2 separate regions of the Homo sapiens genome follow, and region 1 is linked to region 2. The links are contacts of gene promoters, found by promoter capture Hi-C in blood cells and fetal thymus (Javierre and others, 2016). All regions are on one chromosome and are shown on one strand. The core of a region is centred on a gene start or on the middle of the fragment in contact, and the rest is flanking DNA. Distances in the headings are between cores, read along the strand shown.

Region 1 (3,051 bases), core at 124-2,623, 260 kb after region 2:
AACTCTACGAAGTCTTTACTCTTGTTACTTCCATTTTACAGATGATGAAACAGACCTAGGAGAGTTTGGTAACTTACCCAAGGTAACGGTATTTTGCACAGTTTCCTCACTACAAAAATTGTCTGGGCTGTTTGTTGAAAGTTCCCATTCCCAGGCCTCATCCTATTCCTGTAGGTTCTAAGCCTCCAGAAAGGAGCCTGGAAGCTGAAGATTTTCCCTGTATACGGGGGTTACTTGTCATCAAAGAGAAATTGAGAACATTTGGGGCCACTAAGTGGTAGGCCCAAGCAGTCTGGCCACAGGGCCTTTTCACTTAGCCATGAGGCCAGGCTGCTCCTTTAAGGCCTGGTTTTCAGTGCCTGTTATGGCCCAAGGGAGGTGAACAAATGTCTCCTTTGGGATTTCTAAATTTTTTATTTGTTGCGTGGTGTAGAAGCTGATATCAGCTAATTGCTCATTGTGCTCTCAGCTGTTTGTTTGCACATCCCCTTTTTTATATCACAGCTACATTTTGAAATCCAGCATTCCCTGGAGGCATAATATTCCTTCCATTGCTACCTTCTTAAAAAGAGAAACTTGGCCAGGGCAGTGGCTCATGCCTGTAATCCCAGCACTTTGGGAGGCGGAGGCAGGCAGATCACCTGAGGTCAGGAGTTCAAGACCAGACTGGCCAACAAGACAAAACCCTGTCTCTACTAAAAATACAAAAATTAGCTGGACATGGTGGCACATGCCTGTAACCCCAGCTACTCAGGGGGCTGAGGCAGGAGGATCGCTTGAACCTGAGAGGCAGAGGTTGTAGTGAGCCAAGATTGTGCCACTGCACTCCAGCCTGGGTGACAGAGCGAGACTCTGTCTCAAAAACAAACGAACAAAAAGAAACTTGAATGAATCTGACTTCGGTGGGGACAACAGTCTGGCATTTCACATTCCAAAGTTAAGAGTTCAAGGATCCTTCTGGACCAGGTTTTTGTTCCTTCCCTGTCCTCAGGGCCCATTCAGAGGCCTTGTCATCAGAATCCACTCAATTCAGCAACTCTTTATTGAAGGCCTGCAAACTGCCCCAGCCTCTGCTGAGTGTAAGAGGGAGAAAAATAAGCAGCTTGATCCTCTACTATCTCACTGGAGAGGGAGACGGGCTGCCTTCTCAAAGTTGGTGCCTGGGTCCTGCTGTTTGGGAGGAAGCAGCTCTTGGCCCGGTTTTTCCCTTAGTTTTAGGCATCTCTTGCTTAAGCTCCTTCTAAGCCCCCAGCATTTCCAGATCATGATTATTAGTCAAAAGTATAGGGGATACTGTCTGGGAAGAGGCATGAGGAGGCCTCCAGGGGTGTCAAAAATATTCTGCGTCTTCATCTGGGCAATGCTTACCTGGGTATAAATGTGTAAAATTTCATTGATTGTGCATTTTCCTGTATGTATGTTATACCCCATTAAAAATAAAAAAGAATAGGGCAGTTTCAAGTGTATTGATGCATAATATTGCCAGACATATTGTAAAGGGAAAAAAAGAGCCACCGAACAATGTGTATGTTACCACTGGTATTTTTAAAAAGAATATAGGAAACTTACCTTTCACTCCATCTTTTACAGCATTTGAATTTTCTACCATGGGCATGAATTACCTACTCAAAAACAAAGTCACTATAGATTCCTGGGCTTGGTCCCCATCTTACAGAATCAGCTTCTCTGGAGTTGAGGCCCAGGAATGGTCATTTCTAACACCCTCTCCAGGTGATTCTATGCACACTGCAGCTTAAGAACTGCATGGGGCTGTGCCGGCCTGGCTTAGGCTACATCCTACCACAAAAGAAGACAGATATAAGGGGAGTTTACCCCAGGCTCAAAAGATACTTTCCCCCATGGCTTGATGATTAGGGAAGGAGCTGTTCAACTCTATTAAGAATGCCAAAACCTCTGAGCTGGTGCCAAAGTCAACAACTCCCGTTTCCATTGTAAATCCGTACTCTTCTCATGCCAGTCTATTTTGTATGTGCTTTGCGTCGACATCCCTATCTTTCCATGTTAGATTTTAAATTGGCTCCCTACAGAGTTTGAGGTTGGGCCTTAGAAGGATGTGATGAATCCCTTCACTTGTAATATGGCCATTCACCTCCTCCTCTTAGCAAAGCTGCTGAGACATAACATGGCTTCAATAACTTCCCAAGGGGACACCAGCTGAGATCATCTCTCCTGGGCAAATGAGGCCCAAACAACCCTCTCTGTTAAGAGGTCTCATCTGTGTATTTTTGAATGAGCCTGCCTCCCTTGGCACCCTGTCCCTATGTCACCAAGAACGTTTTACCCTAATCCTACAGAGCATCCTGGCAGTCCCTCTGGACTGAAGTTTATCTTTCCTCTCCTTTCCAACTCTGTCAAGAAGATTCTGTAAATAACATCCACTTGCTACTTTTCTTAACACCATGAATCATCATACACATGGGTATAGCATCCCAATTTGTAGCCTAGGAAGCTAATCTCAAAGGATTTTGCTCTTGCATTTATTTATTTATTTACTTATTTTATTTTTTTGAGACAGGGTCTCACTCTGTCACCCAGGCTGGAGTGCAGTGATGCGATCTTGGCTCACTGTAGCCTCTGCCTCCCCGGCTCAAGGGATCCTCTTGCCTCAGCCTCCTAAGTAGCGGGGACTACAAGGACACACCTGTAGTGTGTAGAGGTGGGGTCTCACCATTTTGTCCAGGCTGGCCTAGCTTTTATTTAGGTCTGTGTGTGAGCATATGTGCTCATGCACACCCTGAAATCTGCTTTGATATCCATGATTATCTAGACACGGTTCTTGTGACCTACCTTTTAAGAAGCATTGTACATTTGATACATGGTACCTCCACGCTTTGGCACTGCTGAGGCCCTGTTTCCTCTTATCCCAAGGGGCATCTGGGAACTTCTGTCTGGATAGCCAAAGAGCAGTGTCTGTCTCTCTCTCCACACACATCCCCCGACACACACACGTATATATACACATATATATTTCTCTCTCTTTTAGTATACTGGCACCCATTTAGTAACGTTCCAGCTTGCATTTTCTCCAGA
Region 2 (3,182 bases), core at 427-2,926:
GGCGACACAGCAAGATTCCATCTCAAAAAGAAAAAAGAAAAAAAAAAAAACCTTTTTGCCTCCCCCTCAGAGTCACCCATCTAAGGCTGGAGAGTCCTCCTGAAATCTCAAAGCCCCTTCATCCCACTCCAGGGAAGGCAACAACACCATTAATGAGCGATCTGCCCTCAGAGCTCCCCCTCCAGGGGCCTCAGGAGCTTAAAGTGGCTCCCAAGGAGCTATTAGTCATTGGCTTTAAATAGCAGGTAATCCTTCCTCTGACCTGGCAGGCGGGGGCGAGCATTGACACAGACAGAGGCTTGGGTTGGGAATGGACTCTTCCCTCCCAACTGCACCGGCCCTCTCCCTACACTGCTCCAGGGCAAAACGGTCCAGTGGGAAAAAGGGAAAGGGAAAGGTGTACTCTACCCAGCCACGTTACCTGTGTGTAAGATAGGTATGGTGTTTCCTCCTTCTGGAAAAGGCCACATCACCCTGTATAAAAACATCTTTGGGACTTCAGAGTCCTGCTCTTTCGGGGACTTTCCAGTAACATTTGGCCAGAGTTCAGGTTGGGGGGTACAGGGAAGAGTAGAAAGGGGCTAAGAAGATCCAGCTGTCTTTCATGGTGGCCGGGGAGGGCCAGGAGCTCCCAAGTTCCTGGGAGCTTGGAGCACTCTGGAAGCTCTAGCCCCGAGGGTCAGGCAGATCACAGGACATAGGGCTGGGGCTCAGCTGTTACCTACCTTGCTTCAGTCAATCCCATTTCTATGAGAAAATGATGGAGGGGCCACCTAAAGAGTCCTGGCCCTGACTCCCTCCCAGCGCTCCACGGTGAATGGCACGGGGCATCCGCAAGTCCAGCCTGCAAGGGGCCCAGCTGGCCTCCGGAGGCCTCCTGGGAGGCGGAGGAGGACCGGGGAAGATACAGCAGCCGGCCAAGGCCGCGGGAGGGAGGGAGTCAGGAGACTCCCATCAGCAGGCAGCCCTCTTCCAAGCTCCTCGAAGCCTCTGGGTCCCCTCCCGGGCCCCACTTACGGCCTGCGTCCATTGCACCGACTCCCCGGCCCTTCCCTTATGTGACCAGGCACGGACAATTGGGAGCGCAAAAATCCAATGAACTGTCCAGCCAACTGGAGTTGGCAGGGAGATGGCCAGGACAAAGTTATCCAGACAAGACTTATCCATACTAGAGTCCTAGAATCTCCCAGGTGGAAGGGGTTCGAAAGTCAAACGCAGTTCCCTGGCCTCATTTTTCACCAGGGAAAAGAGAGGCCCGACACAGCGGATTCCTTTGTCATTATCTGTAAGCCGCATCCCTGGGGGCGGCAGGGCTGTCACCCGATGTCCCGAGTCCCAGCCCAAAAGCCCCAGCGCAGAGACAGCAGGGCCGCATCCCCCTGTCCCGCCAGGGCGCAGCGGAAGAAGCCGCCCCTCTGCCCAGCCCGGTCCCCGGGGCTTTGTCTAAGTTTGTCAACAGTGGAGGTGGAGGGCGGGCGCCGGGCAAACTTCCGAGCGGCGCGGGGAGGAGGGGCGAGGGGCAGAGGGCGGCGCGATCCACTCACCCAGGGCGACGAGGAGGCTGGGGGCGCAGAGCAGCGCGCCGCACAGCGCGGCCAGCAGGCGGGGGCGCGGCATGCTGCGGGGACGCGGGCGCTGGAATGGGCACGCTGGGCTGCTCAGACCCCGCGGGGTTCTGGCGCCTTCTCCTCTGGGACCGGAATAAATCAGGCGGCTCAGCACCTCCCACTGGCCGTGCGCTCCGCCCAAGCTGGCCAGAGGCGGACTGGGGGCGGGGCTCCGCGGCTGGGAGGGAATTGGTTGAAAGGAATTGGGGGGCGCGGGGGTGGTCCGCGATATCTGCCTCTTCCGCCACTGCCACACCGGCGTCCCGCGTCGTGCCAACGGCCGGGTCACGAGTCTTGAGTCTGTTGGGCGGGAAAAGTTCAGGAGTTTTGTTTTTAAGATTTTTAGACTTGAAAAGATGCTAACTCTTTATTCATAATCAGATAGATGCAAATTAAAACTACAATGAGCATCGTGTTTCCCTTCTCGGATCGGCAAGTATCAAGATGTTAACAAGGTTAGTGGAGGCTGTGGGGAACAGGTCCAAGCATGCTTCGCTGAAGACAGTATAAATTAGTTCAACTTCCCTAGAGGGCTATTTGGTAACACCTATCAAAACGACAAATGCTGACACCTTAAGACCTAGCATTTCCACATAGAGAGATTCATTCTACAGAAACTCCCATGTGCAAAATGACAGATATACAAAGATAGCATAGCAACATTGTCTGAAATGGTAAAATACTAAAAAAAAAAAATCAGCGAAGGTTTCTGTAAAGGGCCTAATAGAAAATGTTCTCTGATATGTAGGCCCTGAGTCTCTGTAGCAGCTATTCATCTCTGCCTTTGTTGCAAGAAAGGCACCATAGACAAAATGCGAGGAAATGGGCACCTGTTTGCCGAAAGGGAATAAAACAAAGCAAGCCTGTCACCGTTGACTTTTTACTAAATGATTTGTACTTATCATGTGCAAATATTACCTGTTTACAAATAAGTGATTTTAATAATAGTGTTTTGGCTGGGTGCGGTGGCTCACACCTGTAATCCCAGCACTTTGGGAGGCCGAGGCACGTGGAACACCTGAGGTCGGAGTTCAAGACCAGCCTGGCCAAGATGGTGAAACCCCGTCTCTACTAAAAATACAAAAATTAGCCGGGCGCAGTGGCAGGTGCCTGTAATCCCAGCTACTCGGGAGGCTGAGGCAGGAGAATCGCTTGAACCCAGGCGGCAGAGGTCCCAGTGAGCCGAGATCATGCCACTGCACTCCAGCCTGGGTGACACAGTGAGACTCTGTCTCTAATAATAATAATAATAATAATAATAATAATAATAATAATAATGCTTCAGGCTGGGAGTGGTGACTCAAGCCTGTAATGCCAGCTCTTGGGGAGGCCGAGGTAGGCATATCACTTAAGCTCAAGAGTTCGAGACCTTCCTGGGCAACATGGCAAAACCCTGTTTCTACAAAAAAAGAAATACAAAAATATTCCAGGCGCATGCCTGTAGTCCCAGCTACTCAGGAGGCTGAGGTGGGAAGATCGCTTGATCCCAAGAGGTCGAGGCTGCAGTGAGCCACGATTGCACCACTGCACTCCAGCCTGGGCAACAGAGCGAGACTGTCTCAAAAAATAATAACA

What was found. Contacts are between HindIII fragments. The CHiCAGO score rates a contact against its expected background, and 5 or more counts as called.
Region 1: a contact is called between a fragment that was not itself captured here and the fragment with the promoter of MFGE8 in region 2, in 6 of 17 cell types (M0 macrophages, M1 macrophages, naive CD4 T cells and 3 more). The highest score is 7.8, in M0 macrophages.

The regions. Positions count from the first base shown.
Region 1 is chr15:89,172,714-89,175,764 of GRCh38, forward strand. All of the region lies in intron 5 of ABHD2 (abhydrolase domain containing 2, acylglycerol lipase), which reads left to right. Among named protein-coding and RNA genes, the nearest start is that of RLBP1, 47 kb to the right of the region's middle. The HindIII fragment of the contact is 4,890 bases long and covers 1-3,051 here.
Region 2 is chr15:88,911,703-88,914,884 of GRCh38, forward strand. It overlaps MFGE8 (milk fat globule EGF and factor V/VIII domain containing), which reads right to left and starts at 1,677. Exons shown (of 8, transcript NM_005928.4): 1 at 1,545-1,677. The coding sequence starts at 1,617. RefSeq lists an enhancer at 887-1,418. The HindIII fragment of the contact is 11,396 bases long and covers 1-3,182 here.